2 separate regions of the Homo sapiens genome follow, and region 2 is linked to region 1. Evidence: promoter capture Hi-C in 16 types of primary human blood cells and fetal thymus (Javierre and others, 2016). All regions are on one chromosome and are shown on one strand. Each heading gives the region's core, a stretch centred on a gene start or on the middle of the fragment in contact. The rest is flanking DNA. Distances are from core to core; before and after follow the strand shown.

Evidence for each region. Contacts are between HindIII fragments. The CHiCAGO score rates a contact against its expected background, and 5 or more counts as called.
Region 2: a contact is called between a fragment that was not itself captured here and the fragment with the promoter of FUS in region 1, in 4 of 17 cell types (M2 macrophages, M1 macrophages, M0 macrophages and 1 more). The highest score is 10.5, in M2 macrophages.

What each region holds. Positions count from the first base shown.
Region 1 is chr16:31,178,501-31,182,316 of GRCh38, forward strand. It overlaps FUS (FUS RNA binding protein), which reads left to right and starts at 1,639. Exons shown (of 15, transcript NM_004960.4): 1 at 1,639-1,727. The coding sequence starts at 1,715. RefSeq lists enhancers at 525-584, 876-1,636, 1,095-1,164, 1,637-2,398, 2,399-3,159 and 5 more and silencers at 1,325-1,394, 2,035-2,184, 2,305-2,354. The HindIII fragment of the contact is 6,651 bases long and covers 1,615-3,816 here.
Region 2 is chr16:31,310,953-31,314,768 of GRCh38, forward strand. All of the region lies in intron 14 of ITGAM (integrin subunit alpha M), which reads left to right. Among named protein-coding and RNA genes, the nearest start is that of ITGAX, 42 kb to the right of the region's middle. The HindIII fragment of the contact is 5,360 bases long and covers 1-3,816 here.

The sequences.
Region 1 (3,816 bases), core at 389-2,888:
GCTGGTCTCGAACTCCTGACCTCGTGATCCACACGCCTCGGCCTCCCAAAGTGCTGGTATTACAGGCGTGAGCCACCGCACCCGGTCAGCTTTATTATTAAATGTTAACTTCATCTGCTTTGTACACGAATGCATACCCAGTGCCCAGAACAGTGCCTGGAACATACTAGGTGCTAAATAAATATTTGTGACTTAATGCATGAATAAGGGTGGACTTCCTTTCTTTTGCTCTCACTGGAGAGTTGAACTCTCCTTCCAAAGGCGGTGGGGTGGATATTGGCATATTCAGGGCCTTTAGGGCTGAAGTCAAGGGCTTAGTGGGGCTTAATTTGTGGGCGGGCCCAGGGCATGGCCCTCATTGTTTCTCTAGAAAGACGTGTCCAACCCTCAAAGGACCTTCTGAAATCCCGCTGAAAGGTTAAGTTGGGAAGGAAAACCTGCATGCCTATGTATCAGGAATTAACGTCTTTTGTCTTGTTTTATTCAGTAGTTTCAAATTGCCTTCTCCAGGCAAGGCTGATGAAAGTGCAAGTTGCAAGTTAATTTGAATGTTTCTTTTTGCTTTTGCTCTCACAGGAAGTGAAAAGGCGACCAAACACTCTAGCATTCATGCCACCAAAAAGAGGAGTGTTTTGCAGTTACAAGACCTGGATTCGAATCACGACTCCTCTTAGCTGCCCTGTAATCAGGCACAATTACTTGGGTCTCTGAGTCTCACTTTCCTTATCTAGAAAACGGAGGTATCTTTACTTCCTTCGTAAGACTGATGACAAGGAAATTATCTGTGCATTTTGAAACCACTTAAGCCTTGTACACGTTTTATTTCTGGGATCGCCCTGGTAGGGCTTCAGAAAAATAAAAAGGAGGTCCCTGAGAAAAGGCTGGGTACCGTACATCTGAGGTCAACCCTCTCTGGTCCCAAGGATGGCCTGGGCTGTTCCGCCCCGTGGCTCCCCAGGGGCAAAGCCATGAGGATCCGGGTGAGAGCCCAGTGCTGGACGAGCCCGGGGCCCAGGGGTCCCGGCCGAAATCCCTGCTGTCTTTCAGGTCAAACGTCATAATCCCCGAACCCCAGAAAGGCCGAAAGGCAAGGCAACCCTGAAAGACGACGAAGTCAACCTCAGGGCGCAGGAGAGGGAGGGCCAGTGTGCTGCCGACGAGGGAGGCTGGAGCCGCGGGGACGAGGCGCCCCATACAGCGGCAAGAGGGTGGAGGGCAGGAGCTCGCCATCCTGGGTGAAAGCGGGGCCCAGCGAAGGGGCCCGGCCACAGGAATCTCGGTTCCACCCCGCTACTCCCGGCTGTGACTCCAGTTTCGTCCCCAGCCGCCGGGACCGCCCCCTCGCCCCGCCCCCAGCGGGCACTCAGGCCGTACCACTGTGCCTTCATGGGGGTGGAGATAGATCGTGGGCTAGTCCTGCCGAGGAGAGAGGGGTTCTTCCTCAAAAAATATGATTATGTATAGTATTCGCATGATTCTAGTTAACTTGTTTCCCTTCTGCCTGCTCGGACCCTCTACCTGCCCTACGAAGGGGGCGGAGTGCGTTCCTGCCTCCCCCTGCTCTTCCGCGTTTGGTGCGCGCCTGCGCGGTGCGTAGGCGGCGGAGCGTACTTAAGCTTCGACGCAGGAGGCGGGGCTGCTCAGTCCTCCAGGCGTCGGTACTCAGCGGTGTTGGAACTTCGTTGCTTGCTTGCCTGTGCGCGCGTGCGCGGACATGGCCTCAAACGGTAGGTAAGGGCGCGAGGCGACGGCGGCGGCGCACCCGGCCGAGGCCTCCCAGCTGGGCTTTTCGTTTTCAGTGGGACCGGGGCGGCGATCCCGTGTGGGATTTTTTGGCGCCCCTGTGGCGGGAAGCCGCGGAGAAGAGTAACTGGAGGAGGCTGGTGTCGCCATTTTGTTTCGCTCCTCTGGCCCTCGCGCGCGGGGCGGGAAGTCTTTTCTTTGCAGTCCGTTTGCTTGGGGTGGGCGTTGGGAGGGACGCTTCTTAGGGGTTTGAAGCGTCAGGTGAGGGTGGAAAACGCCCATTCTCCGTGGCCTCGCCTCCCCCAACTCCCGGCCCCGCGCTCGAGCCCGCTTTGTCGCAGTGCTGCATCCGGGCACTCGCGGCGCGCACGCGCTCTGCGGGCCCCTCCCCCTTCGCGGCGCGGGTACCCCTTCCCCGCCTCGTGTTGGTTCAGCTTTCTGTCGCGAGACCCTTCGCGGAAGACTCGGCGGCGCGCGTCCGGTGTGAGCCTTGTCCCTCAGTGGTCCTTCGCGAATGGGCGGGATCGCTCCGTTCCCGCCTGGGTTGCCACGCGGCTGGGGGCGGAGGCTCGGGATCGGGGCCGCCCTCTAGCTTAACGGTTTGGCGGCGGTGGTCAGGGTTCGACCAACGGACTTGGGGACGGCCCGAGAGTTTTTCCCGCCTAAATTTCTTTCTTTTTTTTTTTGGAGACACGGTCTTCCTCTGTCGCCCAGGCTGGAGTGCAGTGGTGCGATCTCAGATCACTGCAACGTCCACCTCCTGGGTTCAAGTGATTCTTCTGCCTCAGCCTCCTGAGTAGTTGGGATTATAGGCGCCCGCCACCACAGCCCGGCTAATTTTTGTGTTTCTTAGTAGGGGCGGGGTTTCACCATGTTGGTCAGGCTGGTCTCGAACTGCTGACCTCAGGTGATCCGCCCGCCTGGGCCTCCCGAAGTGTCGGGATTACAGACGTAAGCCAACCACGCCTGGTCTAAATTTCTTTTTTCTGAGATAGGGACGGAGAAGAACGGCCGCCCGAGGCCACACCCTCTCCTGGTCCTCTTTCCCTTTTCCTGCGGGGGAAGCGCCGCGTTTCCTGTGCTGGGAGGATGAGTTGATCTTGTTCGTGTATCTTAAGTGGGGCTTTTCAAAAGCGCTTTTGTTGCTTTTTGTTCGCTGGGGGAAGGCAGGGTAGGTGAGAAAACGGAACCATCTGGAGTCCCAGGGCTGGGGACTCGAGTACCTGTTGACTTTCGCCTCCTAAGGCGAGCAGTTGCATGATCTCTGTCATTTGGGGTCCAAGGGCTCTTTTGATTCTCTGGCTTTGCACTAAAAAGCCCACTTCATCTCCGGGATTGGTCAAAGAGTGAAGAATGGCCTTTTTTGAGACTTTCTTATTCTGTGGGTCTGGGCTGAGAGAGCAGAGGCCACAATCTGAACACTGTTCGAATTCAAACCTGTGCCACTTTGGTAGTTCTGCGACGTTGGGAGAGTTAGTCTCTTGACTCCTGGCGATAATGGCTTTCTCATAGAGTGGATGAAACGAATGCGCGATGTTTTAGAGCAATCACTGACATGAATTGGGCTTGCAGAAAATTGTGGATGTCCACCAAGACCTTGGTTTTTCCAATGGTTAAGGCTTCTGGGACTCTGTAGAAACTTGCATTTTCTTCACTTTTTCTTTATTGTAAGAACACTTGGCTGATAACGCCAGTTTGTTCCTCTTCTCAACCAGTGTCTCATGGAGGAATTTTATGCCCTTTGTTGCAACATGGTCCTATTTTTATTTTTTTTTTTGAGATGGAGTCTTGCTCTGTTGCCAGGCTGGAGTGCAATGGCTCACTGCAACCTCTGCCTCCCGGGTTCAAGCGATTCTCCTGCTTCACCTCCCGAGTAGCTGGGATTACAGGCGTGCGCCACCATGCCCGGCTAATTTTTTGTATTTTTATTAGAGATGGGGCTTCACCATGTTGGTCAGGCCAGTCTCGAATTCCTGACCTCAAGTGATCCACCCACCTCGGCCTCCCAAACTGCTGGGATTACAGGCATGATCCACCGTGCCTGGCCTACGTGGTCCTTTTTATTCATCAGTG
Region 2 (3,816 bases), core at 390-2,889, 130 kb after region 1:
AGAACTGAGCACTCAGAAATAGTGCCGCATATCTACAACTATCTGATCTTTGACAAACCTGACAAAAAGAAGAAATGGGGAAAGGATTCCCTATTTAATAAATGGTGCTGGGAAAACTGGCTGGCCATATGTAGAAAGCTGAAACTGGATCCCTTCCTTACACCGTATACAAAAATTAATTCAAGATGGATTAAAGACTTACATGTTAGTCCTAAAACCATAAAAACCCTAGAAGAAAACCTAGGCAATACCATTGAGGACATAGGCATGGGCAAGGACTTCATGTCTAAAACATCGAAAGCAATGGCAACAAAAGCCAAAATTGACAAATGGGATCTAATTAAACTAAAGAGCTGCTGCACAGCAAAAGAAACTACCATCAGAGTGAACAGGCAACCTACTGAATGGGAGAAAATTTTTGCAACCTACTCATCTGACAAAGGGGTAATATCCAGAATCTACAATGAACTCAAACAAATTTACAAGAAAAAAACAAACAACCCCATCAAAAAGTGGGTGAAGGATATGAACAGACACTTCTCAAAAGAAGACATTTATGCAGCCAAAAGACACATGAAAAAATGCTCATCATTACTGGCCATCAGAGAAATGCAAATCAAAACCACAATGAGATACCATCTCACACCAGTTAGAATGGCAATCATTAAAAAGTCAGGAAACAGCAGGTGTTGGAGAGGATGTGGAGAAATAGGAACACTTTTACACTGTTGGTGGGACTGTAAACTAGTTCAACCATTGTGGAAGTCAGTGTGGTGATTCCTCAGGGATCTAGAACTGGAAATACCATCTGACCCAGCCATCCCATTACTGGGTATATACCCAAAGGATTATACATCATGCTGCTATAAAGGCACATGCATACAAGTGTTTATTGCGGCACTATTCACAATAGCAAAGACTTGGAACCAACCCAAATGTTCAACAATGATAGACTGGATTAAGAAAGTGTGGCACATATACACCATGGAACACTACGCAGCCATAAAAAAGGATGAGTTCATGTCCTTTGTAGGGACATGGATGAAGCTGGAAACCATCATTCTCAGCAAACTATCGCAAGGACAAAAAACCAAACACTGCATGTTCTCACTCATAGGTGGGAATTGAACAATGAGAACACATGGACACAGGAAGGGGAACATCACACACCAGGGACTGTTGTGGGGTGGGGGGAGGGGGGAGGGATAGCATTAGGAGATATACCTAATGCTAAATGACGAGTTAATGGGTGCAGCACACCAACATGGCACATGTATACATATGTAACAAACCTGCACGTTGTGCATGTGTACCCTAAAACTTAAAGTATTATAATAATAAAAAAGAAAAAGAAAAGAAATCCAATGAATCAATTAATGCTATCAACAAAGAACATGCAAGAATGTAACATTACATGTAATTTTTGTTTTCAAAAAAGACACTAAAATGCCACTGCATTAAAATGTATTTATTATTTATTATTATTATTTTTGAGACAGGGTCTTGGTCTGTCATGCAGGCTGGAGTGAAGTGGTGCAATCATGGCTCACTGCAGCCTTGACCTCCCAGGCTCATGTGATCCGCCTGCCTCAGCCTCCTAAGTGTCTTTGACTGCAGGTGTATGCCACCATACCTGGCTAATATTTAAATTTCTTTTGCAGTGACAGGGTCTGTCTATGTTTCCCAGGCTGGTCTCCAACTCCTGGGCTCAAGTGATCTTCCCACCTTGGCCTCCCAAAGTGCTGGGACTACTGGTGTGAGCCACTGCACTCAGCCGGACTATAATTTATTCAGAACATCTTTAGTGTTCATTCCCAGAGATCTTGATCTGCTCAGTAATGCTTTCACAAGATCGATTATAGCCATCTTTTGCAGTGAATGCTTAGGCTGGTCCGTCCTCCTGTGGTAGTAGGGAGCAGTCTTTTTTTTTTTTTTTTTAAATCTTCATGTTTTTATTTATTTTTTCTTTTTTAAATTACACATTGGGCCAGGCACAGTGGCTCATGCCTGTAATCCCAGCACTTTGGGAGGCCGAGGCGGGCGGATCACGAGGTCAGGAGTTCAAGACCAGCCTTGCCAACATGGTGAAACCCCATCTCTACTAAAAATACAAAAATTAGCTGGGCTTGGTGGCGTGTGCCTGTAATCCCAGCTACTTGGGAGGCTGAGGCAGGAGAATTGCTTGAACCCAGGAGGCGGAGGTTGCAGTGAGCCAAGACTGCACCACTGCACGCCAGCCTGGCAACAGAGCGAGACTCCGTCTCAAAAAAAAAAATTATACGTTAAGTTCTGTGATACATGTGCAGAACATGTAGGTTTGTTACCTAGGTATACAAGTGCCATGGTGGTTTGCTGCACCCATCAACCCGTTGTCTAGGTTTTAAGCCTCACATGCATTAGGTATTTGTCCTAATGCTCTCCCTCCCCCTTGATCCCCACCCCTCAACAGGCTCCAGTGATGTTCCCCTCCCTGTGTCCATGTATTCTCATTGTTCAACTCCCACTTATGAGTGAGAGTATGTGGTGTTTGCTTTCCTGTTCCTGTGTTAGTTTGCTGAGAATGATGGTTTCCAGTTTCATCTATGTCCCTGCAAAGGACATGAACTCATTCTCTTTTATGGCTGCATAGTATTCCATGGTGTATATGTACCACATTTTCTTTATACAGTTTATCATTGATGGGCATTTAGGTTGGTTCCAAGTCTTTGCTATTGTAAATAGTGCTTCAGTAAAAATACATGTGCATGTGTCTTTATAGTAGAATGATTTATAATCCTTTGGGTATATACCCAGTAATGGGATTGCTGGGTCAAATGGTATTTCTGGTTTTAGATCCTTGAGGAATCGCCACACTGTCTTCTACAATGGTTGAACTGATTTACACTCCCACTAACAGTGTAAAAGCATTCTTATTTCTCCACATCCTCTCCAGCATCTGTTGTTTCCTGACTTTTTAATGATCATCATTTTAACTGGCATGAGATGGTATCTCATTGTGGTTTTGATTTGCATTTCTCTAATGACCAGTGATGAGCTTTTTTTTTTCATATGTTTGTTGGCCACATAAATGTCTTCTTTTGAGAAGTATCTGTTCATATCCTTTGCCCATTTTTTGATGGGGTTGTTTGTTTTTTTCTTGTAAATTTGTTTATGTTCCTTGTAGATTCTGGATATTAGACCTTTGTCAGATGGATAGATTGCAAAAATATTCTCTCATTCTGTAGGCTGCCTGTTCACTCTGATGATAGTTTCTTTTGCTGTGCAGAAGCTCTTTAGTTTAATTAGATCTCATTTGTCAATTTTGGCTTTTGTTGCAATTGCTTTTGGTGTTTTAGTAAGGAAGATTTTGCCCATGCCTATGCCCTGAATGGTACTGCCTAGGTTTTATTCTAGGGTTTTTATGGTTGTAAATTTTACATTTAAGTCTTTAATCCATCTTAAGTTAATTTTTATATAAGGTGTAAGGAAGGGATCTAGTTTCAGTTTTTTGCATATGGCTAGCCAGTTTTCCCAGAAGCATTTATTAAATAGGGAATCCTTTCCCCATTTCCTGCTTTTGTCAGGTTTGTTGAAGATCAGATGGTTGTAGATGTGTGGTGATATTTCTGAGGCCTCTGTTCTGTTTCATTTGTCTATATATCTGTTTTGGTATCAGTACCATGCTGTTTTGGTTACTGTAGCCTTGTAGTATAGTTTGAAGTCAGGTAGTGTGATGCTTCCAGCTTTGTTGTTTTGCTTAGGATTGTCTTGGCTATATGGGCTCTTTTTTGGCTGCATATGAAATTTAAAGTAGTTTTCACAAGATCAGCTACAGCC